Regions from separate parts of the Homo sapiens genome. Here all the other regions are linked to region 1. The links are contacts of gene promoters, found by promoter capture Hi-C in blood cells and fetal thymus (Javierre and others, 2016). All regions are on one chromosome and are shown on one strand. Each heading gives the region's core, a stretch centred on a gene start or on the middle of the fragment in contact. The rest is flanking DNA. Distances are from core to core; before and after follow the strand shown.

Evidence for each region. The method cuts DNA at HindIII sites, captures the fragments that hold promoters and counts their contacts. A CHiCAGO score of 5 or more calls a contact.
Region 2: a fragment that was not itself captured here is called in contact with the fragment with the promoter of MYF5 in region 1 in 1 of 17 cell types (neutrophils); the score reaches 5.7 in neutrophils.
Region 3: a fragment that was not itself captured here is called in contact with the fragment with the promoter of MYF5 in region 1 in 2 of 17 cell types (M2 macrophages and M1 macrophages); the score reaches 5.9 in M2 macrophages.
Region 4: a contact is called between a fragment that was not itself captured here and the fragment with the promoter of MYF5 in region 1, in 1 of 17 cell types (M1 macrophages). The highest score is 5.0, in M1 macrophages.
Region 5: a contact is called between a fragment that was not itself captured here and the fragment with the promoter of MYF5 in region 1, in 1 of 17 cell types (M2 macrophages). The highest score is 5.1, in M2 macrophages.

What each region holds. Positions count from the first base shown.
Region 1 is chr12:80,714,517-80,719,980 of GRCh38, reverse strand. It overlaps MYF5 (myogenic factor 5), which reads right to left and starts at 3,069. Exons shown (of 3, transcript NM_005593.3): 1 at 2,417-3,069; 2 at 1,548-1,623; 3 at 310-1,120. The coding sequence starts at 2,917. The coding sequence ends at 930. The HindIII fragment of the contact is 7,979 bases long and covers 1-5,464 here.
Region 2 is chr12:81,214,086-81,219,549 of GRCh38, reverse strand. It overlaps ACSS3 (acyl-CoA synthetase short chain family member 3), which reads right to left. Exons shown (of 16, transcript NM_024560.4): 10 at 2,554-2,649. Among named protein-coding and RNA genes, the nearest start is that of MIR4699, 58 kb to the right of the region's middle. The HindIII fragment of the contact is 3,817 bases long and covers 782-4,598 here.
Region 3 is chr12:80,403,222-80,408,685 of GRCh38, reverse strand. No RefSeq gene overlaps it. Among named protein-coding and RNA genes, the nearest start is that of PTPRQ, 38 kb to the left of the region's middle. The HindIII fragment of the contact is 801 bases long and covers 2,998-3,798 here.
Region 4 is chr12:80,423,684-80,429,147 of GRCh38, reverse strand. No RefSeq gene overlaps it. Among named protein-coding and RNA genes, the nearest start is that of PTPRQ, 18 kb to the left of the region's middle. The HindIII fragment of the contact is 963 bases long and covers 2,109-3,071 here.
Region 5 is chr12:80,456,714-80,462,177 of GRCh38, reverse strand. It overlaps PTPRQ (protein tyrosine phosphatase receptor type Q), which reads right to left. Exons shown (of 45, transcript NM_001145026.2): 4 at 4,534-4,603; 5 at 2,695-2,894; 6 at 1,276-1,525. Among named protein-coding and RNA genes, the nearest start is that of PTPRQ, 15 kb to the right of the region's middle. The HindIII fragment of the contact is 2,307 bases long and covers 1,810-4,116 here.

The DNA.
Region 1 (5,464 bases), core at 1,820-4,319:
CATGTGTTACTGTCCTGAATAACCTCTATCTTCCCTTCACACACAAACGACTTGATAGTATATGGTACAGTTCTAAGATAAAGGAAAAGTTTCATTTAGCAGGTTCACTTGAAATATATTTAAAATGAAAATATGACATTTTCACTTGTGACATCAACAGGACCTAAACTGGGTACATGAGAATGGTAAATATTCAGACTTATCTGAAAAGCCAACTGTTTAAGTATTTTCAGCTCACATGTAAAGATTTCATGTCAATGAACAGTAATTCCATTGGGGTGTTATTTTAAAAGATCATGAGCCAAAATATTTCTTGTAGTAAAAAATTTTATTTATGGTGGAATTTCCAAAATTTCTTATATCTTGAAATGATCCACAAAGTACTATTTTGTGCTTACATTTAAAAGATACATTTCTTACAAGAAAAGATCAAAATATATACATTAGGCAGTATTATATTTTTATTTAATACAATATAACTAAAGGATTAAAGAGAAAAGAAATAGTTAAATATATTTAAAATTCCATTTAACTGATTCTCAGCTGTTTTAATGTTTTAAAGAAAAAAATAAAGCTCTAAACACCAGAGACATTTTGATGAGCAATATTTATAATATATATATATGTATATATAAGTTAAGCATTGCAACAAGCTACCCTCAATCAATGGCCCCCTATCAGAAATAGTATTACTGGAACTATGTATTAATATCTAAGCAAAGAATAATAAAGAAGAAGAAAGTATTATTTGCAATGATGACTTTTTAGTTAAATACACTTTCTTATAAAGTGGCAAGGTAATCTTTACAAATTTACAACTGAAAAGAAATCTTTATGTACATGTTGTCTTGGTTTGGGACTTTTTGAAGCCTTCTTCTTCCTGTGTATTAGGCCCTCCTGGAAGAAGTCATATAGACCAGAAAATTAGTTCATAGCACATGATAGATAAGCCTGGAACTAGAAGCCCCTGGAGTTGCAGGCTGTGAATCGGTGCTGGCAACTGGAGAGAGAGAAGCCAGATCCTGGAGAGGCAACCCAGGTTGCTCTGAGGAGGTGATCCGGTCCACTATGTTGGATAAGCAATCCAAGCTGGATAAGGAGTTTTTATCTGTGGCATATACTAAGGATACAAGGAGAAAAGCATTAAAAAATAATTAGCCCAAGATAGACAGATTTGCTTATGTTGCTCCTTAAATTGTAGGTCAGCTCCTCTGACACCCAGAGGTCAGGTGGTCACAGAAAGCCTAACATAGAAATTTGCAACAAATATCTGGCAATTCCTGAGGGGTAGACGTGGGGAGTGGGGAAGCCCCCTGATAATATTTCAAGCAACATTGTGTGTGCATGTGTGTATGCATGTGTGCGTGCGTGTCTGCTAGGGGGATTTGGAGCAGAAGATGTGTTTATTTTGCTTTACCAAAGCCTCCCTATAAGAACCATCACTTCCATTCTCCCTTCCCCAATACTATCAGCAAGAACAGAATCTTATAGGCTGAATTGTTAGGTTGAACTGGTCTTTAAACTCCTGTGAAGTTATCAATTCTTACCATTTGATACATCAGGACAGTAGATGCTGTCAAAAGTACTGCTCTTTCTGGACCAGACAGGACTGTTACATTCGGGCTATAATACAAGACACACAACAAAGTTTGTTTTCAGGTCTTGGCAAAAGATGTTCTGACCAAAGGTGAGGCTGTGCTTGCCCACCAGCTCTGTAACCGAACACTGTCAATCACCTTCACTGCCTTGATTTAGGAAGGGCTAGCCCTCTCCAAATTCCCAGGGCACTGAGGTCAATCTCTGTGCTTGAAGAAGAGGAGAGCAGCAGCAAAGGGAAGAGGGGGTGGAATTCAGCAGCAATGTGCATTGGGTTAACCATGCAAAATGGATTGGAGTAGAAGAAAGCCACACTAATTCAGGGAAAGAACACTTTCCCAGGGCAAAAACACATTAAAACCTGGCAGCCTTGGAGCAAACGCCCTCTAAAAAGAATGCATCAACATCTTTCAGCCAGGCCTCATTGGAGCAGGAACTGGGGCCGTGTGGGTATTTCTTTCCATTTCCTCATTAAGTTAGAAACGGTGCCTTTAGATATTAGCGTAGGGCATGATCCACAGATGGCATATTTTGAAAATAAATTCAGGAATGGAGAAAACATCTGAGTGATCATTCACAGCCACCCATCTTCCATGTCAACACTCGATTACAGTGTACACCTAGAACCTGCTAGAAAGTTAAACTAAAATCTTGTTCAGCAGCGGTTTGGGGAGTCTTTCTAAATGTGGACCCCTCTCTTCTTTTAAAGCAACTCAGCATCTGCCTCCACCCCACTCTCCCCACCACACCAGGTTAAATGAGGTGTAAGGACTTTAGAAAAGATTAGGGTAGCCTAGCAGGTACCAGATCTATTGCTTACCATGCCATCAGAGCAGTTGGAGGTGGGGCTGGTGGGCTCCGAGCAGCTCTGTCCCGGCAGGCTATAGTAGTTCTCCACCTGCTCTCTCAGCAACTCCTGCAGGCTCTCGATGTAGCGGATGGCATTCCTGAGGATCTCCACCTTGGGCAGCCTCTGGTTGGGGTTGGTCGTGGTACACCTCTTGAGGGTTTCGAAAGCCTGGTTGACCTTCTTCAGGCGCCTCCGCTCGCGCATAGTGGCTGCCTTCCGCCGATCCATGGTGGTGGACTTCCTCTTGCAGGCTTTGCAGGCCCACATGAGGCAGTGACCAGCCTGGTGGTGGCCGGTAGGCGCTCGCACGTGCTCGTCCTCATCTGAGCCCTGCAGCTCTGCTTTGTGCGCTCCGAAGGCAGCCACTCGCGGCACAAACTCGTCCCCAAATTCACCCTCGGGGGACGGTATGCAGGAGCCGTCGTAGAAGTACTCAGAAGGTGAGAACTGGCAGCCATCCATCACGTCCATCCTGCTGAGAGGCAGGCGGTGCACCTGGACGGCAGCGAGAGGGATGGGGAGAAACGGGAGCCTGGCGCCTCCGCCGATGGGCAAATCCCGGGCGGAGCTCCCTAGTCTGTCGCTCCGGTAATTAACAAGGGCAGACGCCTGTTGGCCTGGGTAGACAAGCTGGGGTTGGGGTTCTTTATATATTCTTTCGGGAGGGAGGCCGGCCCCAGTGGCCAGGCACTATTAGCATATCCCACCGCAACCCCCGCGGGGGCTGTCTGGACAAACCTCCGCCTTTCCTCTACAGACAATCTGCTGTGTACTGCCCCTTTTGACGCTAATGGTTTTACTGTATTTCTGCTGGGGCGGCAGTGGGTCCCCAACCTGCTCATTTGCACTCTCTAGATAGGCTAAAACAAGGGATCACTTAAGGAGTGTTTCACACAAAAGTGACCAAGGCAGTCCAACTTTTTGCAATTGGACACACATTTTAAAATAGTGGTAATAAATAGAAATCCCTTTCAGCTGGCACCAAGAGCCGACCTGCCCTCCCAATCCTGGGCGTGAGGAATCACCTGATTTGGGGGTGTTTGTTTCTCTTTTTCATGAACTTCAATTATCTCGAAAACTTTTTCCAGCAATTGGATTGAATAACGGTTACTAAAAACTTGAAGTGGCATTTTCAATCTTGGAGTGAATACAGGGTTTGCCTTTCCAAATCTATTTTGTATAGCTTCAGATGAGTAAAGTTTTGCTCAGATTGTCATTTATTCTAGGCTCTACCTTATTGAGAGTAGGGAGGGAGGTTCCTTTTCCCATGACTGGGCTTGCTCTGAGTTCTCCCTGTATGTCTGCTCATCTAAAAGGAGGTGGGGCACAGGAGGGCCAGGTGACCAGGAACATTCCTCCCGTTCTTGCTTCCTTCATTTTCCCCTTCTGTACGTATTTGTTGAGCACCTTCTCCTTTGTGCCAGGCCTTCCCTAGATCCTGAGCAGGCCAAAGACCTGCACTGAAAGTGTCTCTAAGATTTCCAACAGAAGAAGCCCAGTTTTCGACGGCAAACTCCCTTTCCAGGGGTGAGTCTCCTTTCTCCCTCTCTTTCTGCTCCGCCCTGTCATTTCTACAGACTAAACAGCCAAGCTGGGCTTTGGGGTTGCTAATTTTCTGCTTTCAGGCAAACTAACACCGTTACAGATGCGTCCCAGCTGCCGCCACTGCAATCCTTGACTCGTGTAAAATTTCCAACTCCTCAAACCAGGAGTAACTTCACACACTTCAGTGACAAAAGCCTTCCAGAAAAGCAATCACAGCAGGGTCTTTAGAACTTCGATGGATAGAAGGCAAGAGGGGAGGGTTGTCATTTAAGTGGGAATGAATCTATTAATCAGCTTTTACCAATCCTCCTCCAACCTTAATCCACTTTCAGGTTATTTGGGTTGGGGAGGTGCTGTTTATATTTAGGAAAAGCAATTACTTAAGGTCTACACAATTAGTCTTGGGGTTTTGGACTAGGTCTTGTGGCCCCGTTGAAAGAAGCAGGAGTGTTCTCAACTCAATCTAGGGTAACCCAGTTCAATAAATATAGTGGCTCCGAAGTTATTGCGAGGAGGAGGGAGTTTTCCTTCCTATTATTATTATTATTTCTTTCAGTGAATGGTACTTTGTACTTTTTTTTCAGAATTATTTTCTTAAAGCAACACTGGTTCATTGATCCAGCATCTTCAGGGGCCAGAGAAGTAGCAACCTTTTCAGGGTGCGATCTCTCTAAAGTGAAGACCTTGAAAACCAGAGGTGGGAGAGTGACACTGTCAGTCACTAAGGTTTGCTAGCCACACCATTGCTGTCTCCTCTCTTCTGTCCTGTCATCTCTAAGAAAAAGATCTCTCCTGAAAATCAGGTTCCCTCTCACACCAATGGGCTGCTTAATCATCTGACCAGTGGGAAATCCATCTGCACCTTTTTTAGGGCTATTAACAAGTCTATGCCTTTGAAATGAATACGGTATCCAGGGCTACGCCAGATAAAAAGAGGCAAGTTCAAGAAGAACCCAGGTGGAAACTAAGATGCCATCCACGCTGGTGGAAACATTCAAATGCACAGCAAATGCAAAGCACATTGCTACCTCTGAAATACAATAGTGGGTAGATATCCTCCCCCAGGAATTCTCAGCCAAGTCCCACAGTTTCTATTAGCAGCCATATGACCACTTTTTTATTTTTTTGGCTGTGGAGTCCACAAATTAGCTCGGACTTGTGCTTTGGACACAAATAAACTTGGTCTTTAAAGTTTGAGTGAAAGTTAGAGGTTACGCTTCTGCTCATCTTTCAGCTAATTTCTGAAAGCACTTAACGTGATTTGTACTCAAGCCCCTCAGCGCGAAATATTTTTAACTAACAATTATTGAGAATTTTCTATTTGCCCCGCACTGTTCTCAACCCTTTCCTTAGATTAACTTAACAATTAATACTCCAAACCACCCTGTGGGAGCTATTATTGGGCCCATTGTAGAAAGAAAGTAAACTCGAGCTCCAGGGACTAGGTTATTTGCCCCAAGGTCATACAGGATT
Region 2 (5,464 bases), core at 1,441-3,940, 500 kb before region 1:
AATTTAATCTTCCCAAATATTATCTCAATACTTTCTGTGCTGTCCTGATAGAATCCTAAAAGAGTTTAGGAGATTAAAGCTTGTATCCACATTCAGTAACCCTTGGTGCAAACTAAATATGAAGATAAGTCATCATCTTTTAGGCTTTAATAGATTATTTATGTGGCCTCATTCATCCAGGTAATTCTACCTTAAGCAGATATGAGAAAAGAAGGTTGTTGCTCTCAGAAAAAAATTAATTGTTCCCTTCTTTGTGTTCCTGGAGCACTTTGTTTTAAAATTCTGTATTGACAGTTAGTAGAAGTATCTGTATCTAACTAGATTGTGAGTTCACGGAGGCCATGGCTAATTTATCTTTGTTTCCCTAAATCTCAGTACAGTGGCCAAATCACTATATGCCCCAGGCACATTCTGTAACCCGTTCAGTTTCCCTGTCTATGAAATGGGAGAAATCTCTTTCTCATAGTGCTTATGCAAGAAGTATTTTTAAAAATGTATGCAAAGTGACAAGTTTGCATAAGGTACTCAATAAATGTGTTATATTAAATTAATTGTTTTTTAGACAAAAAGGATTTTCTTTTCTTTCCTAAAAGGATCCTGCGTTTTTTTTTATTATTATACTATTTAATATTACATTATGATTTTAATCTCTAAACAATCACAAAACATAAAAATTATCAGTCATAAAGTCACTGATTCCTTGGTTTTAAATGTTTAACCTGTACTGTCTGCAAGCCAGTTGAGAAACTTCTGTACTGAAGTTACATGAGGGAAGAAAGCTTAACTATTTCTTACAACTAGATATAAAAATGGCACTGAAATACTAACAGAGAAATGTGTTTAACGTCTTCCACCATCAGAAACCCCTAAAAATGTCTCAACACAAAACATTTTTTTCTGATAAAAGGAGCAGAGATGACAGACTGTTTAAACAGAGGATTTCACTAAATCTGGGTTCACCTTTCCAGGGCTGGAGAAGTCACTGACTTCACAGAATATCTATTTCCGCCTTGAATAAAAAAAAAATCTGAAGTATCTTTTTATAAATGTATCTGCTAGGTTAAACCAAATGATCCACGTTTTTGTAACTAGCCATTGTCCTAGAAGGGAAATCCAATATTTTTATGTTAGAGAAGCAAAAGTCAAATCTCTGAATTTTGTAGTTTATATGCAAATAAGAAACATATGTTAGGAATCATATTTTGTCTCCCAAAGCTAGGTTTTCTTCATAGGTCTACTAAGCCAAATTGTGTGACCTTAAGCAAATTACAAAACCTCTGTGCCTCATTTTCCTTGTCTGTAAAATGAATGTGTTAGTCTAAATCAAGTCAGTCCTCTGACTTTTCTGAAATATTAGTAGCACTACTAGCTAAGACATATTCTGCCTTTCTACTGGTAGGCACTGTGTTAATGCTTTATTGCATAACATCACAAAACAGAAGCCCTGGAAAGCATATAAAAATGTTACTCTTATTTAGAAATAAGGAAACAGTGTTCAAAAAGTTATGTGACTTGTATAATTTATACACCTAGAGAGAGCCATCCAAGATAAATTGTTTAATAATAATGGTTACTACTGTAAATTTAAAAACAAAAATTGACAGGATATTATAGCTTTTAGTCACATAAAGCCAGCATCAAAGAAATGTTTTCTTTTGGGATCCTCCCCCTTTGTTTTTATTTTTATTTTTATATTTATTTATTTATTTTTTGAGACAGAGTCTTGCTGTGTTGCCTAGGCTGGAGTGGCACGATCTCAGCTCACTGAAACCTCTGCTTCCTGGGTTCAAGCAATTCTCGTGCCTCAGCCTCCCAAGTAGCTGGGGTTAGAGGCGCACACCACCACACCCGGCTAATTTTTGTATATTTAGTAGAGACGAGGTTTCACCATGTTGGCCAGGCTGGTCTCAAACTCCTGACCTCATGTGATCCGTCTGCCTTGGCCTCCCAAAATGCTGGGATTACAGGCATGAGCCACCACTTCCGGCCTGTTTTTATTATTAAACAATAAGGTTTAAAAACTTTGTCCTCAATCCTAAATTAAAATGCAGCATGTGTAATATACAGTAAGAAACTGCAGCTTTTGAAATCAAAGCAAGCAAATTCTGAGGACAATGGTTTGCATTGTCCCCAGGATCTAACCAGCAGTGTTATCTCAAGAAAATTATTTATTCTGTTAACCAGTTGGTTAACTCATCTCTAAAATAGTAATGATAGCTCTGAATTAAATATACTTCAGCATGAAATGAAAAGACATATATAAAGTACTGGGCTCCCAGCAGGTGTTTCCTTCATAGTAATTTCACACCCATATTCCTAACATACCTTATTAATGATATTATTTTTGTGGTTATGACAGTCATTTAGAACATATCCTGGAAATCCACAACATACTTTTGATAGCAAAAATTAAGGCATTCATTTTTAATACAAGGCATTCATTCAACCAGATTCTAATTAAGCCCCTAGTTTGTTTCATGCAACATAATACACACTAGATGCAAGAAAATGCCAAATTTATTAACTTTACGTATTATCAGGGTCATTCCTTACCATTGTATCCTGGGACGCTTTTTCCTGCTTGCCCTGGTGGAGGTGTTTTAGAATTGCCTAATCCAACACATGACGCAGTAATTGGAGATCCAGTCTCTGGAAAAAGAAATGTTATTTATCACTTCATGTTTTAACTTGGAATCATAATGTTTCTTGAGTACATGCACACTCTACCCCACCCTAGTTTGTCATACAATGCAGCTGTGTTAGGAATAGATGAATAGTGCAAATATATTATTTAAAAATTTAAAGCTATCTAGTAACTTATAACATATCCACAGTATTAAAACTTAAGAATTCATAATTAGAAAAATTTATATAGTAGTGTTTCTTCTAAAGAAAAGAAAGGCTGCTCTAGCGTTTGCAATTGTGGATCAGCAGGCGTGTAGAATGGAAAATTATGTGACTTGGACGGTTCCATAACACACACTAAAAGCTAAAATGATCACTAGAAAAGATGCTTTCTCTTGACTCACCTAAAGTTATTTCGTTTATCATTGTTAATTACAGTTGTGTCAAAACATTTTTGTTATTTCTAGCTCATTCTCCGGAATAAGTAACCCAAAGATTTTTGAAATTATTACATTGATGTAAAAGTAATTGCGGTTTCTGCCATTACTTTTAATATATGGATAATATCGTCATTTAGCATTAGGTATATCTCCTAATGCTATCCCTCCCCCCTCCTCCAACCCCACAACAGTCCCCGGTGTGTGATGTTCCCCCTCCTGTGTCCATGTGTTCTCATTGTTTAATTCATGTTGTGCACACGTACCCTAAAATTTAAAGTATAATAATAATAAAAATAAAAAAAGATTACACACAGAAAAAAACATTTTAATAAAATGTCTTTATAAATTAAAAAAATATATAATATATATGGATAATATCATGCTCTAATTTCCTAAGAGCTACACTTGCCTAGAGAACCTGCATTTAAAGCTAAATTTGGCAATAGTTTTTCAAGTTGTTCAGTCTGCTGTTCCTGGATGTTAGAAGCCCCAAAACACAGGGAGGAAGATGACTATACTCTGCTGACTATTTCATCAAAACCACGAACTTTCTCACAACTAGCCTGCAATGATTGACAAAAATGCTAAATTTGTTTTCTGTGTCTCAAGTTGTAACAGCCAGAATATTAGCTATTACCTGATTACCACAAGTTCTGAAAGTGGTTATTTTTAATGGAGGGATGCACTTATTAACATTCATAAAAGCAAGTTTGGAGTTAACACAATCTTTTGAATACAAAATATATATGTACGAAAGGGCAGGAAAATAGTATTTGGTTAGTGAAAAGTTTGGGAATTACTTGCTTAGTATTACACACATAACCTACACATACATATACCCAAGGAATTAACTGCCAAACCCATCATATCTAAAGTAATCCAAAAAAATTAAAGGCATCCATCTTCTAAAGTACTCAGAATGTGTTCCTTCTACCATGGGCTCTACCATAATTTATCACATATTGATATCACTTTAGAATGATGGGAAGAATTTATTACTGCTCTTTACCTTCCAGAGTAGTTCATTTTATTATTCACATTTTATGGATGGAGGCTCAGCTGGCATCAATAACAGAGGATGAACTCTTGAACATCAAAACACAGTTCCTAAGTCACAGTTTAGTGCTCAAGATGCTAAGCCATATGGTCACTGCTGAGGATCATCGGCAAGTAACCAGAGCAGACATTTCTGATGTTTAACAAAGAGTTCTAAAGTATTTTCCAAGCATGACAAAAAAAAAGGTGGGGGGCAGGGGGGAAGGTATTTTATGAAATGGCAATCCATAGCCATCTAATACTCCTGCCGATTTTCCCCACAGCATAATCAAAGCAAGGGAGGACATCTGCATGGTCAGAAGTGTTAACAGCATTTCCCCCTCTGTTTTTTCAGAAATGTCCAGGTGCTCACCTCAGCTATCCTTCGAAATGGATATGAGAGACCAGAGCAGGGTGATGACAGGAAGCAGTCTTGTAGAGTGAGGTGCTTAAAAGAAGGTACACAGAACAAATAAGATGATAATAGGAAGAGAAGCTTCTCAGACACATTAGGAAAGGAGATACCACCTTCAAGATGCTTTTGTTACTTCTACTACCTGGTGCAAGGAAGCTGCTAGAGTAAATCTATTTTAGAAGTATTCTTATTAAGTTCAGTTTGTCAATAGGGACACACCAGTTACCTAGAGTTCAAACTCTCTACAGTTCTTACAGTGTGGATTCTCATGAAAGACGTTATCACTCTGTTGTTCCTATCGCACTGGGAGAAGGGGGATGTAGGAAAAGAAGGTGAGAGTATAACCTAGTCTTAAATAAAGCTGCAAGACAGCAAGAAAGGATTAATGAAGCGTTGTCCTTCTTCACTGCCTAAGTAAGCTGATATACGAACCTCCTGAGATTCCCAAGCATCTTTCTATAGTAATTATTTATTTATAACCTTTATTCTTCATCTTTTTTATACATTATGATTATAAGACAACTATTAAAAGCTTATTTTTCTATATAATTAATTTGAGTCTTAAACTTTAGGGTGCTGAAAATGATTATTCATTCAGGTTGCCTAAAGTAGATAATATATGTTTATACTTTGAACATTAGTAATTCAAGTGTCTTGTTGACTTTATTTTGATTGATTCATTCAAAGGATTAGAAAAAGAACTATTGCTGGCTGGGCGTAGTGGCTCATGCCTGTAATTCCAGCACTTTCGGAGGCCGAGGCTGGTGGATCACCAGAGGTCATGAGTTTGGGACCAACCTGGCCAACATGGTGAAGCCCCATCTCTACTACAAAGACAAAAATTAGCCAGGCGTGGTGGTACCCACCTGCAATCCCAGCTACTTGGGAGGCTGAGGCAGGAGAATTGCTTGAACTCAGCAGGCAGAAGTTGCAGTGAGCCGAGATCACA
Region 3 (5,464 bases), core at 2,149-4,648, 310 kb after region 1:
AGAAGGAGGAGGAGGAGAAGGAGGAGGAGGAGAAGAGGAGGAGGAGAAGGAAGCAGCAGCAGCAGCAGCAAGAGACAGAGTTGACTTTCATTAACTCATTAGCCATATGTCTTCAGGCGAATTGCAAATCTCGCAATAAGCCTCTATTTTCTCATCTGTAAAATGAGTATAATAATAGAAACTACATCTTAAGGTTGTTGTAATGATTAAAGAGGCAGTACATTCAAAGGCTCAACACAATGAGGCTCAGAGAAAATATTCATTAAATGTTAGTTATTTCATTTGAAATCATCAAATAAATTGCATGCGTCAGGAGAGGTTGTTGATACCTTCCTTCTAAAGGATGTCCTTGGTGAATGTCACCAACCCAATTTTCACAAGTAATAAATATCTGTCATATATCTATCCTTCTTGAAAGGGGTAGTTGAAAAAAAGTATAAGCTTTGACAAAATACTCCTGCATACTAATTATATTTCTGACACTTAACTATCTACTCTTGGGCAACTACTAATCTTAGAAACTAAATGTTCTTGCCTGTGCAATGGAAATAATCATGACTACTTTGCATAGTTGTCAATAGTTTTAGAGAGTATGTTTATAATACAGCGAATACATAACACCTCCTTAAAAAATAAATGTAATACTTACAGAGATAATTAACACTATGAAAACAGATACTATGTCTATATTTTGGTCATCAGACCATCCCCAAAATCAAGCACAGCACCAACCAAGCTGCATGGGTAAGAATTAAAGAGACCTGTTTCCTCTGGACATTTTAAAAAGATTTTAAAACAATGCATTCAAATTCCACCTAACAGAATGAAGAAATACTATTTCCTCAAAAAGTCTGCTTTATTACATATGTATTGTTGTAGTTTTAAAAATAGGCATATGATCAGTGATAGTATTTCAAGTGATTAGGGCATGAGAGTTGGTCAGACAGATATAAATTCAAGGCCTGGAATGGGCATTGATAAGTTATGTGCCCCAGGATCTCTCTAAGATCTATTTTCCTGTATAAAATGGGAATAATGATAGCACCTACTACAACTATAAGGTGAAAACTAAATGAAGGTTACCTATGCAAGCATCCCAAAAGGAAAGAAAGAGACTATTAATCTTTCATTCATTACGTTCCTGTTGAGTACCAAACCCCAGTTTGAAGCCAGGAATGGAATGCTGAATAAGACACACTCTCCATCCTTGAAGTCCAGTAACAATTTTGCACTTATTCAGCACAGATTTACTTAAAGGAGTAATTACTTTCTGAACCTACCATGGGGATTATGATGTAGCAGGTAACTTTGATGTCAACCTCAAAATATCATGGTTAAGGGTAGCATCTGATGCATGTCCATATGGGCAAGTGAATCTCCCTGTGCCCCAATTTCCTAATATATCATGCTAACAGTAGGAAACAACTGTATGTGTGTGTGTGTGTGTGTGTGTGTATATATATATGTGTGTGTGTGTGTATGTATATATATGTGTGTATATGTGTATATATATACACAAATATATACACACACAACTATATATGTATACATATATAGTTGTGTATATACATATATATATATATATACACACACACACATTAACTGGTCTACTTGCTAAGAAGAGACTGGCATGCTGGGAGAGGGAGTCTGAGATGTCTAAGATGAATTGTGATTTAAGGAATCTTTATTAGAATTTCATTCATTGCCTATTAAAAGATAAAGAAAACTCAATAAAATAATAATTTTTAAAATGCAATTAAGGATTCCTAGAGGTTTTCCCAAGCTTATGCAAAGCTCCACAGGAAAGTTGGCATCAAATTGGTAGGATCTGCCTTAGTTCACTATAGATAAGGATATCTCAAGGAGAACATATTTATCTTTGAGTGCCAGGAAATAAAAGTCAGTGGATCATCAAGAAGAAAACACAGACAGACAGAGATGACTATGTTAGGTCTTGAGTTTCTCTACAAAATGCTGACCAAATGAAGTTTCATGAGACTTTCCAAAGTGTTAGGAATGTTGAAGAAAAATGTTACACACTCCTGATTTCACTAGTGTTAAATAAAATCTCCAGATCTTTCTGTATTGCTTTTAGTAAAATTGAGCTTCACAAGACTGATGTGTGGAGTGAAAAGAAGAAAATGGAAAAACACTTTTCATGTTTTGGGGTTCATATTATTGCACTGTTTGCAGAGATGAGGAATAAAGGAAGTGAAACAGGTTTGATTAGAGGGAGAAGGCAAGTTCAGTCTTGGCAATGTTACAGTGTCTGCAAGAAGTGCCAGAGGGATAATCAGAAGAAAATTAGATATATGTCTGGACTCATAAGAGGAAAGTAGACTAGATAAAGAATTTAGGAATAATTGGTGGTTCAGGTGATAAATTGAGTGAAGAAATGGATGAAATCACTCAAATGAACTTAGAAATGGTCTGGGGAATACCAAAATTAAAGGAAAATTAGGTTTTAAAAAAGATGCCTAAAAATATATTAAACTGGGTATCTATAGAAAGAGAAACTGTATTGAATTAATGAAGGAAGAAATCAATGAATAAAGAATGCATGAATGAATATAGATAATAAAGTTTCATTTATCACAATATATGTATTTCTTTACATTTACTGACCTTCATATCATTAAGACCAGTCCATATTATTATTTGATTGTTTGACCTGAGATACGAAAATACAAAACTTTTTTCCTCTTCATTTTTTATATCCACAAGGTGTGCAGAACTTAAGGATAACTTACAATGTTGCTGGGCTATATTCCATGGCTTACTGTCATTGTTAATTCTATAACAGTTATTTTTTAATGCTGCCCATCCTTGTGAACACGATCCTACCAAAAGAAAAATCCCCTGTTAAAGATGAATTCAGTAATATAACATTTCATAATTATATTTCTTAATATGTATACAAGTTAATTATGAAAACCTCATAGTATTAAGTGTGCACCTTCCCTATACTACTTTCAAACCAATAAAAATATTAAAGCTTTGTTTATTAATCAAGGAGCAAATAAACTACCACCAATTAACATGGTTTTTTAAATAGCTGTAAGAATTAGTTATGCAGAATTATTGTCCAATTATAACTTTATTAAAATAAAAAACGATGTTTTTCTTTCTAAAGAAAACCTTACTTTAGATTGCCTTTCTTTTCCCTTACTTTTGTATTGGTAGCAAACTTTTTATCACATTTCAGGTTTCTTTTTATTTTGGAGTACTAGACACAATGCTTGCTAAAAATTTTGCTCTCAGTCACTTGACTTCAAAAGTGTTTACCTTCCAGAAAAAAAGCAGGAATGGCTGCTTAGCGTTATTCTCCAAGATTATGTACCACAGAAAGACTGGAGAAAATAGCAGCCTGTTCAGAGAAAATATTGCACATCAGTTCATGTTAATATTCTACCAGTGCCTCAACTCAACACAGTAGGAATATGTGAGAAAGTTCTGAAGATCTTTTGTCTTTTTTTTTCCCCACAGGAGAAAGGACGCTTAATTACCTTATTTTATTTTTTCTTCCTATTTGAGTGTTTCTATACTTCACTTGTACAATACATGTGTTGTATCTTTTTTATTATTCCTGTAGGGGATATTAAAATGACACTCTCAGACCGTCACAAAGAGTGTCCTGCCCTCATCAGCTATCTATGATTCTGTCCCCTTCTACCTGTTCCCACCTTGTGGAGGAAAGACATGAAACTAGGAAGACCCTAAAATTGAACACATTCACCTTTCCCCTAAACTTTTCCTAATTGTGGTCAGGTCTGATCATAGATGAGTAACAGAGAAGCTTTAAATAGGATGAAAGATCAGTGTGTTTGTAATATATTGTAATGGATCTTGTAATACCTGAAAATGAGACTGTTTGTTGACTCATTAAAGTAACCTAAAACGCTATGGAATTTGTATGACTCTTTGTCAGAGTAAAGAAAAAGAGAACCCACTTGGGTTTAAAGGAAGTGCTGGGAAGAAAATAAAGTTATTAGGTTGGTTTCTACCATTACTCCGCTAAGTCCAGCTTGTTCAATAATCAGTCAGATACCAGAATGATATAGTCAAAAAAGGAGACTATGCTAATTTGATTACAAGCAGCCTGCAGTGATTAATACTTGGCCAGATCACTTTCTTTTGAAATACAATATAACTGCTACATTATCTACAAAATATATAATAAATATATAATGAATGATGAACCAAATGTCTATATACCTGTTTCAACTTGAACATCCAGTCTCTGAAATATATTTATGAAATCCAAGTGTAACTGTTTAAATTCAAATGTGAAAGCATAAAAAGCTGCAGGTTTTAAATTACCCCACTCATAAACCATAACATTATTTTGCATAATTTGTGAATAATTATTGAAAGATATTGACACTGATATATCTTTGGAAGAGGGCACACTCCAGTTAAAAGAAATACTTGTACTTGTTGCTATTGTTTTAATATTGCTAGTTGAGATTCCACCTAAAAAATCAGGGAGAATAATTAGCACAGATTCAAATAAAATTGAATGAAACACAAAGGATATTGAGTTACATGATTCACCATGATGAGAAAACATTATCTACCCATAAAATATTTTCTAGACTATATGGGAGTTTCTTCTATTCTACATAGAATGAATGAATTAGATTACAGAACCACATTATATTTTTTACATAATCTGGATAACACGTAAAATCTCCACTCTACCTATCCATTCACACTAGTACACATAAAATGCCAAAATTTAAAACTATATTCTTACCTCAGTTTATAATTTTCTTTAAATTCTGAGATTTACATTATGTAAAAAATAATACTATTATAATTTTACAGTACCATTTTATACCTGTTAATCATTGTAAAATTTAAATTATCTGGTAATGAAAGTTTACATAGTTGATCAACATATACATTACTTACGAATTTGAAATGACTTTTCACTTAAAATTTGTCCATATCTCATGGACTGTAAAATGATGTGATAATCTTCATTTTCCTTTAGTGTTATTATTAATTTCTGACATCTTTGTGGGTCTGCGAGAATACTTTTTACATTCTGCAAATAATTATATTCATCTGCTTAAGAAATGTTTATTGAACATTATCTCTAAGCCAGGCACATTAATTAAAAATTTGACTTTTGTATATCTCCTTCATAAAAGTAGTTTTTCAATGTGGAATATAAATATATATATGAAATGTTTATTTCTACATAAAAGACATTTTTTAAAGAATTATTCTCCTTTGGTATATAAATTCTAAAAAGACAAATAGTCATTCCTATGAAAAAGTTAAATATTATTTGATCATCTACTTATTAAAGATATTTCAAAAAATGCTAACATTTTATATATTAATAAAATAAGAAACCCTGATAACTATTAGGTTCCTATTTACAATGTGGCACTTGGTAACACCAGATTTACACTATGCTTACTTTTTATCAGAACCAAGAAAAGATTCCTTACTC
Region 4 (5,464 bases), core at 1,341-3,840, 290 kb after region 1:
GTTCTCTATAATATAGACTTTAATGACCTTACATGCTGCACAGATGCCATTATTTTACATTGTTAGAGAATTTTTAGAGAGTTTGGTGTTCTGAGGACCCTGCAGAGCCAAATGGAATTTACATTGCAATAGTAGAATTGATAATACTTGGTGACTGAAGAAGGTATTCGTTTAAGATTGTTCCCTTTTGAAATTTACATTGATGAATCAACCAGATCTTTAACAAATAGTACTCCTTCCTTTTGGTTTTAGGGAAAGAGAGTTATCTGCTCTTCCCAAGGATAAAGATATTAAGAGGCTTGATCTAACTTCCTCTAGTTCTTTAGAATATAAGCACAATGAGAACAAGAAATTGTTGAAGGAATGAATTTTTTGAATTTGAATGTTGAATTTTTCAAATGAATAAAACTGTTTTTGTTCTCAAAATCATTCAACTAAGTCTATAGGCATACATAATGCCCTCATTCATTAAAAAAAAATTTCCTGTTGCTTATTTCTTCAAATCTTAAATGGTAAGCATGATAATAGAGGCCAACTCCATTTGTTTTGTTTCACTGGATCTGGATTGGCTTTCTATTCCAACCTGGGATAATTACATTCCCTTCTTTGGGAATTTAGGGAGAAATTATCTTTCTTGGTGCCCATTTGTGCTTGGAAGTTGTGTATGGCATTCTTCTACTCACCACATGGATTGCTCAGCAGACAAAGTTGGTCTTCAGAAAAAAAAAATAATAATAAGGCCAATAAGCAGAAAGAAGTAGCCAGACAAAAAGAAAATAATCCCTGGGTTCTCAATGACCTTGAAATAGCTGATTCCAATTCTTTCCAACATCCGGTTCTATTGGTCTTCATAAGGGACTCTTGTATTAATATTTTTTTCTTTATTGCTTAAACTATTTTAGGTTGTTTTATGTTATTTGCAACTAAAGTTACCATCTCCTACCACTGGAAATGTTTATTGCTCCCACAGACTACCACTGGAAATGTTTATTGCTCCCACAGACTACCAAGCAATAATGCTGTACTAGAAGCATTTCCATTTGCAAACCATAAGATGTAGAGCGAGTATAATTTGTCCTCATGCCCACTGCCAGATTACATTATTAACAAAAAGGCAATGAAAATGTACATATTTACCTGATGAATAACAGACACAGTTGGAAAGTGCTATTTAGGCTAAAAGTCTCCACCCAATTAAATCTCTAGGATGGGACTGAAAGAGCATGTGGCACATCACGTGGCTGTGACTACTGGAGTCTTTTTGCCAGCCAGTGCTGTTACAGGAGCATTATCCTCCAGCACCACCACTCCTTTATTCACTTCCTTGGTACTACATATGTACTTGTTTATGTCCACCAAAAAAACCAACTCATCGAAAATCAGATATCAGTTTTACACATATTTAAATACTTTCCATAACAACTATGTACTTTTAAAGAAGTAAATACAAGAAATACTTGGGGGAGAAATCCTACATTAACAAAGTGGCACAATAATTTCTAAAACCATTAATGTAAAATGAAGGACAAAAAAAAAGGAGTGAAATAAAGACCTGGATAAACATCAAGATGGTATGAGAGCAGCAGTGTTCTTTACCTGAAACTTTTCAAACCCTCCTTCTGATAGTTTCCAAGACAAACATATCGTGTTTTCTTCTTGCCCCCAGATTAGCAAATCTGATGGATCTGGATCTAAAGAAATGAAATAAGACACTGGGACATCTTTTAAAAGACATTTCTACCACTAAGTTATCTAGGCTGAACCAATAACCTTGACTTTGAAGAGTACTAGATATGAGACATAAAACCTAGGCTTATCCAGTCAATTTTAGCACTGTGTGACCATGTGCAAGCTATTTACCCCAAGTCTAGGCTCTCTATATCTACAATGAAAAAGAAAAAAGAATTTCTGGAAAGCCTTTTCCAATAATAAAATTATGGATTTTCACATTTATTTTTCTCACAGCAGAATCCAACTTCAAGTTCTTACAATTGGTATTGTTTACTTGTAATTTATATACTGCATAAAGAAAGAAATATATCTCCCCTCCTTAAGTTCACAAATTCCTTTTCTCTGTAACCACTTTACCTGAGATGGTTCTAGAAGCTTATTTTCCAAATTGGTAACATGCCTCTATTTCAAACCTATATTGCAAATTAAACTATTGTATTGCTTTCCTTTGCTAGAAGAAATGTAATATTAACATTTTATTAAAATAATTTCACCTTAAAAATTCAAATTTTGAATGGGATTTTTTTGCCTCTACTTACATTTACTGATTTAAGTTTATTAGAATTCATCTCTGTGGTAGATTTAACCTGAATCACTGACTCATACTCTTTTATATTCTATTTTTCTATAATGCACATTCCCTTACAACTAGAATTAATTTATTATCCCATAATATATTTTAACTCTATTTTGTACATTTATTAATATTCCATCTACTTCCAAATTGACTTGAGGGGACTTGCAAATAAATGAAGGTAACTAAAAAGATAAAAATATCAATAATATACAATAGAAGACAAAAGACAGATTGCAATATGGAAGACATTAAAAAAAGGTTACCAGTCTTGTTTAAGAAAACACAATCAAAAAGGCAACAACATCACGAACTATGGAAAGCATTATTATTAACCCCAGGTTAGAAATAAGGAACTTGCAGTGCAAACAGAAGACGATTTTCACAAAGTCGCAGAGCTAGAATGGGTAGAGTTAGTCTTTCCTATAACACAGTGGCCTTTCCACTGAAGCACAAGGGTTACAAGGTCAGAATTTGATGTCAGAGAAATGTGAATTCAAATTTCTGTCATCTAGTATAAGTGACTGAAATTCTCTAAGGCTCTGTTGTTTCTTCATTTGAAAAACGTGTAAAAAAATGTACATCTTATTATGATTGGTAGAATAAAGGTTGTCATTCATAATGAAGCAATATAAAGCATAGAAAATGCTTAGCAGAGTACCTGATGAAGGCTCTCAATGTGATGCAATCAATGTGATGATGACAATGGTGATGATGATGGTGACAATGAGAACAACAACACCCAAATCTAAGCAGCAACTAAGCTTTCACTGATATATAATAATGAGCTATCTTTTTTAAAAAATTGAAAACTTTTCTCATCTATTTCTGATATTTCTTCTAATGGTCTTTATGAGAGGCAGCAGGGTCATATCAGCTTTAGATACCCGGGATAAAATCTCACCTTCAACAATGAGTTATGAACACCTCTAAGCCTTAACCTACATTTTGAGTAGCCTGCAGAGAGTTGATGCAGTGACTAAAGCACATAATATCACGCTGGAGTATAATCATACCTCAATTTGTTTAGTTTATTTCAAAGAATTGATTTGACCATTGCTGCATTTTAAGTGCTTCCCTTCCTTTGCACTGCAACTTCTGAGATCAAGCCTCTTCTCATAACTAAGAGAACCTTGGTACTTGAGCACACTTTCATAGGACTGGGCCCCACAAGTGAAAGGACTCTGAAATAGCTACACATGTTCAGAGCAAGCATATATGTCAAGTTACGCTAATAAGGTCAGAAGAGGCAAACAGAACCCAAATAATTCAATCAAAAAGACAGTATTTTTAAATAAAAAAGTCTATTTTTTTCATACCCCAAGTTTATTTTCATAAAATGTTAATATAGCCCAAGTACTAGAGAAATATTATTTCATGACAATAATACCTTAGGGTTTTAGAGTACTTTACACTTTCAGGAAGAGTTTCACATTTCACTTTAGTAACAGGTTATTTTACCTAGGCAGGAATAATTATTCTCATTTCCTAGGTGAGAACACAGTTGTTTTGCCTAAGGTCACATAATTAATAAGTGACAGAGGCAGGAATATATCTCAGACATTCTCCCTGTAAATGCAATGCTCCTTCTCTTCCAGCATATCACAAACCACTTCCTAGTCATTCATTTCTAATTAGGCATTGTCCTTAAATACAACCATTTCTCTCTTCTTTTTACCCATGAAAAGTTAATTAAATATAAAATGAACTTACAAGTGCTAACCATGAGGACAGTAGGATGGCTTCTTTTCAGTCCCTTGTTAGTCATAATACTAATTAAAAAGTCAGTCCCTGGAGAAAGGCTATTAAATGTGAATGTCCTACAGGTTAAACAAAAGTGACACATTAAAACATTTAGCTCAGACACATTTGGAGAACTCCATTTTCTCACCTGCAGAAAAATTTTTATATGCTTCATTTTTAAAGTAACTATCATGGAAATAATTTGCTGCACTTAAGCACAAATGGTCAATTAAAAATCATATCTTCTTACACAGAGACATTTTAAGTCAAAAAAGAATATATCATACATATGATAACATTCTGAATTCATTATTATTTATTTTCAGAAATAATTTGTTACAATATGTCAGACTTAGTTATTCTGATCACACTGTAGTCCAGAAATTATCTTGCAAAATTTTCTCATTTCTGTTTATATTTTCCCATTAAGACAGCTTTCTAAAAACATATATAAAACATTAATTTTGTGTTCCATGTAACTTGACATAATTTCTTTTCAATATTTTCATACCTTTTAGTGGAGGGCAGAATTTCTTCTCTCATTAAGCTTTCACTGGATATTGAAATAATATATCCATCCAGAAGACTTCTAGCTGAAGGCCAGCTAACAGTTACTGCATTTGGGTCTCTGCTATGTTTCATAAATTCAGCTGCACTTGGGGCTATATCATTTAAGACAGACAGTAAGATAACATTTTCCATAGCACAAAGCACCTGCCAGCCCTGAACCGCCCTCAGGAATTGACTCTATGCAAACCCTGAGGGTAACCAAGGCACTCCTTTTTCTTAAAATTTAATTTGATTTAATTTAATTTTAAGTTCCAGGATACAGGGGCAGGACGTGCAGGTTTGTTACATAGGTAAACATGTGTCATGGTGGTTTGCTGCACGTATCAACCCATCACCTAAGTATCAAGCCCCACAAGTATTATTTATCCTGATGCTCTCCCTCCCCGACCTCCGTGACAGGCCCCAGTGTGTGTTGTTCCCCTCCCTGTCTCCATGTGTGCTGATTATTCAGCTCCCACTTATAAGTGAGAACATTCACTGTTTGGTTTTCTGTTGCTGTGTTAGTTTGCTGAGGATAATCGCTTCCTTTTATTCTACCTGCTAGATATGAGAAGTTAAAAGTATTGTTTAAAAACAGCCAGAATTATTTTAAACTTTGAAATAAAATACATGTGTGCTTTAAGTGTACAAAATGTGTCCCAGTAGCATTGTACTCAAAATGTCCCTGGCCTCTAAAATGCAGGAAGTAGATCATACCTTAGTCTTGTGTAACCACTGACTTCAGAAATATTTAATTATTTTTAGGACTCATCCTAATTAAATACCAAGGAGTGCCAAGTCTAATTAGCAGGAAAGTTAATTGCAATCTGAATATGAAATGCCTCCCTTCTTTCCTGAGGAAAAAAA
Region 5 (5,464 bases), core at 1,714-4,213, 260 kb after region 1:
GGAAAAGCGCAGTATTCGGGTGGGAGTGACTGGATTTTCCAGGTGCCATCTGTCACCCCTTTCTTTGACTAGGAAAGGGAACTCCCTGACCCCTTGTGCTCCCCAAGTGAGGCAATGCCTCGCCCTGCTTCGGCTCTCTCACGGCGCACTGCACGCACTGACCTGCATCCACTGTCTGGCACTCCCTAGTGAGACGAACGGGTACCTTAGATGAAAATGCGGAAATCACCCGTCTTCTGCATCGCTCATGCTGGGAGCTGTAGACCGGAGCTGTTCCTATTCGGCCATCTTGGCTCCCCCCGAAATCATTTTTTTATTGTATAAAAAGTAAGGAGTATGTAAGAAGAAAATGGTATAATTCAAAGATGGTTATTTAAATGAACAAAAAAACTTCAAACTTATATGAAATGAAAAATAATAGAAGCCAACAGCTATTTTATCAGAAAAAACATGCTTTAGTGAAATTACCCTACCAATAATTTTCAATACCTCAGAAATTAGCAATTACAACCTAATGCCTGATACTATATTATGATATATCTGTCAGCTATATATATTATATATATAATAAATACCTTATGTAATGTGGGACTATATCAATATCCCTTAAATTTTATAAATATATGAAATACATAAATACATGTATTTACATGAATACTGATATAGTACCATAATTAAATATATGAATACCTTACCAAAAATATGTTCTCATAAAATTCAGTAGTAATGATAATATCTAATTATTCTCATTTAATTTTAACACTGGCACCCTAAGGAAGGTACTATTACTGTCTCTATTTTTCAGATGAGGAAACTGCAGTGCAAATGGGATATAAGTAGGTATATATTTTAGCTACTGCTTGTATCTGATAACTAAATGTTGATCACATGCTCGTTCTGCTAGTGCAGGTATTTCTGCTTTTGATGATGGCAATAACAGTGAGAGAAGGGTGTAAATGATTATAAATCATTTAGAACGGCAAAGATGATTACTAAAAATTGCTGACATTATAAAATGATAAAAGCTATATGAGGATCACGGTCAGTGGCTCAAGAATTGTTTTTTGCAAATCTTTCTCCTTTCAAATACTTATTTTGTGCTATAATATAAAAGAGTATAGAAATTCGAAGAAACCCTTGATGGGATGCCTATGGTATATTATTAGGGGAAAAAAGTTACTGAAAGGTAAAGAAGATTAAAATTAAATATCTACATAAATTAAACATTATTCTCTAATCATTTAAATCTTTTTATCTACAAAAAGTGAACCATACCTGATTCTGGTGTTCTGACAATCGTACTATCAATATAACCTGCTTCAGTTGTAGCAGCTGAAACTTCAAAAAGATATGTTGTATAAGGTCTCAAGTGTGTCACTACAAAACTGATAGGCTCTTTCCACACAGAGCTGATCTCATTCTGTGTCAACGTGCTTGATGAATGTGTGGTACGCGATGGAGGTGTAACTCTACCAAGGGTTGGAGAAGGGCTGGCTGTACTCCATAAAAAAGATTCACTATTCTCCTAGTAAATAAAATAAGATCAATAGAGAAATAATGTTGTATCTCTTGGTGAACATAAGAATAAGAACATGTAATTCATTTCTTTTTCTTTTATGCTATACATACACACATAACATGCAAAAGTTATAGACAAATTTGCTAGATTTTAATTGTACCCATTTATGTCTGCAGTTTTAGAAGAGGACATATTTATTGTATTCCTTATACCTTAACCTTTACGAATAGAATTTCAAGTGGCTTAAAATAAAGGTAAAACTACAGCACAATCATCTGTAAGAATTTTTAAGCTTCATGTTAACAGTGCAAGAGCCAAAGAGCTGAAATAATTTTACTCTTGTGTATGTTCAAATGCTGCTTTCTTACTGTTAATGAACTTTTTTTTCTCATAAGTACTAAAAAGTAGTAGTATGCCACTAGCTCACACGTTAGGTGTGTGCGTGTATTAGAACTATATCATAAGTTGAAAAAGAAGATTTTTAGACTTTTATAAAGTATTTACAGCAAAAATAACTGTTTGACTGTGTTTGCATTAATAGTAACACAGAGATTACCAAAATGATTTTAGGAAAAGCATTATTATGCTTATCATATAATTAAAATGACGATGCTTATTCTATAATAAAGCATTACTATTATGAGGTTTATCATCAATGACCAGAGTAACGACAAATTCTTTACCAAAGATATGCACAACAATGACAGTCTACCTCTGCAAATTTAACCTCAACTATTACCCTACATGTACTCTTCCCTCCTGTCATATGGAAGTAAAATATTTTCTCCAATTATATCTTACACTTTTCCACCTCAGGGCTTTATAAAGTATCCTCCACCGGGAATGCCACCATCACAAAATCTCTATCTGTCCTTGCTCCATGGTGTATCACAAATGCTACTCCTTTGATGAAGTCTTTTCAGAATTCCCTAAATGATTTTAATCCCTCACTCTTGAATTCTCAAACCATTCCTGTATTCTACCTGAATGAGGCCAATTGTGTTACATGATACCCTAAGTAATCAAATAATAAAACGTTGTGTATAACATGATACCATAAGTAATCAAATAACTAATAAAACTTTGGTAAAAATATAGTATCTAGATGCTAGAAATATGAAAATTAAATTTATCTAAGATTTTTCAAGACATAGAAAGTGTTCTGTGATACTTACATTGCATTCTGGCAATTTCCCAGTCAAAATGTCCTCTACTCTGATTGAGACATCTTTCACTACTATCCCACTTCTGGCATGCTTGACACTAATCTTGAAGCTGGTAATTTTGCCATTTGGTTGCCGAGGTAAATACCAAATCAGCTTAACTGCTGAAGCGTTGTAGGCCTCAACTGTGAGATTCACCACTTTTCCTGGAGCTGGGGAAGAGAAAGATTGGGAAGGAAAAAACTTTGTTATAAAACTTAGAATTGCATTTATATAATTTCATGGTACATGAAATTAAATATATAATACACTGCATAAAATCTATTTGTGTAAGATTTTTATAAATGTATTTAACTGAACTTTGCCTAAAATAAAAAACTGGAGTTGGGGCAAGTCAACTTTACTTTAGGATAACTGGGCTAATACATGCATTGATGAAACGTTTCAAATAAGTATGAAAAAAATTCAATCAATAGTTGTGAATATACAAACAAGTTGGGATAAATTTCTTATTTCCTTAACTATTTTGGAATATGTAGTTTCATTAGATATGAAAAACATAGCAAACTGAATCAATTATACAACCATTTTCACCAAAAAGCAGATTTCTGGAATGTTTATAAATGTCTAGTGCCTAATATCAAGTGGATACCCTGCAATTGGTTGTAATTATTGTATTTTACATTTTCAAAATCAACTTACTTCAGAATTTCATTATGCTTTTCTATCAATTATTAATTATATAGAGTAATAATAATAATAATCTGAGTTCTATTTGAGTTGGCTTGAAACCAATATGAAGCTAGAATTAGGGGAAATTATTCCCATTAACCTCATGGTAAAGTGTGTAAAACTGATAGAGTAAAACACCAAGATCCTTCAGAATATAAAACAAACATGACAAGTCATTTTTGAAAGAAATCAAAATGAAACAAAACGTCTGAGATAAAAAAAAAATAAGTGATAGTAAAGATGCCTAGTATTAAGATGCCAAATAACTAGAGTTTAGGTTTACATTGTACAAAAGGATGCTAAAATATAATTTATAAGTAATAGCCACATAAATTACATAAGAAAGTTAGATCTTTGGAAGGAGGTCTATATGAATGATATAAGGTAGGAATTAAGGGACTTCAGGACAGCTGCATTCTAATAAAAATAAAATATAATGCAACAATTCTTGGGAATAATGTTGGACAGGATGTCAGCAATGAGTGTGAGATTCAGAATACACTTTGATGATTGTGCTGGTAAGATTTACTGATAGATTAGATGTGTACTGTGAGAGAAAAGAGCCACAGGTGACATCAAGATTTTTCCTCTATGCCCCTGGAAGAATGGAGGTATCTTAAATTGGTTTGGTAATGACTGCATGTTACCCAATAATATAATAACCATTAAAATCCGTGTTTCCAAAAGTCTTATGTTATAACAAGCTTATGACTTCATGTTAAAAAGAAAAGGCAGGATATAAACTTGCATATGTAGCACAAGCTTATTTTCATTAATGTATAGTCATATAGATACATATTAATGGGGGAAATAGACAAGCCAGAAATGCACCAAAATGATAAAAGCATTTTTTATATGATAAGTCTATGGATAATTTTCATTTTTTATTCTTGTTTTTTCAAAGTTTTGTAAGATAACATTTACTGTTCTTATAATCAGAAAGAATAATATATATTTTAAGGAATAAATTAGCTATCCGAAAGAACTCTAAAACTAATTAAGTGGCCATGCTACTGAGAATTATATGTATTTTAGTGTCAGTTTTTATTTATGTTCTTTATTATTTTAAACGACAAACTCATGACTAAGTCAATTTAAAATAAATGACAGGAAAATTACCACTTTCTGCAGTTTGGAAGAGAAATGGATCACTAAACACTCCAATGCCAGCACTGTTTTCAGCAGCAACCTAGAACAGACCAAAAGGATTGTGTTCAAACATTTTACTCCCTGAAAAAAGAGAATCTAAAATTTAAAACAAAACTTTGACTTATCCATAAGATAAATGCCAAAGATACTTTTTTAATACTCTCAAGGAAGAAGGCAAATATGAAGATATCTATACAATCAACAAATAAAGTATTATTGTCAAAATTGTATAGATGAGAAAACTGGCTGAGAGAGGTCAAATACCTTTGCCCAAGGTCACACAGGAATAAATGGTAGAGCAAGAATCCAGTTGCAGTTGGGTTTATTTTGAAAGCTCAGTCTTTCTCTGATATATCCACTACATAAAAGACATTACAATTATTTCTGTAACAAATGCAAGAGACCATGTATATGGTACCTTAATTTAGAGTTCACAATCTAATCAGGCAAACAAATACTCAAAAAACTGTTTTAAAAAAATAAATTAGATAAGTACATTTAATTAATAATTTAAACTAAGAATTCCAGAATTTTAAAGATAAAAAAATTTGATTTGAATAATATCTTCCAATAGACTAGAATAGAAAAAGAAAATGTCATTAATGAGAATAAGACTCAAGCTTTTGCAAATGCCATGACTGGAATCATAACCTTGGCTTAACTGTAGTTCTACCAATTCCCAGATAGTAGCTTTGAGCAATTTACTTAACTGTTGTAAGTAACATTTATCTTGTCTTTAAAATGGGAATAATAATGTATCTATGTTATAGGATTGTGCTGAGGACTAAATGAAATAGCACATGTAAAATACTTAACAGGATTTTTCCTATAACATTACTTACACTGAAGACATCAAATGTATCATGCCAAATACCCTTTGGAATTCTGCAATGGCTAACAT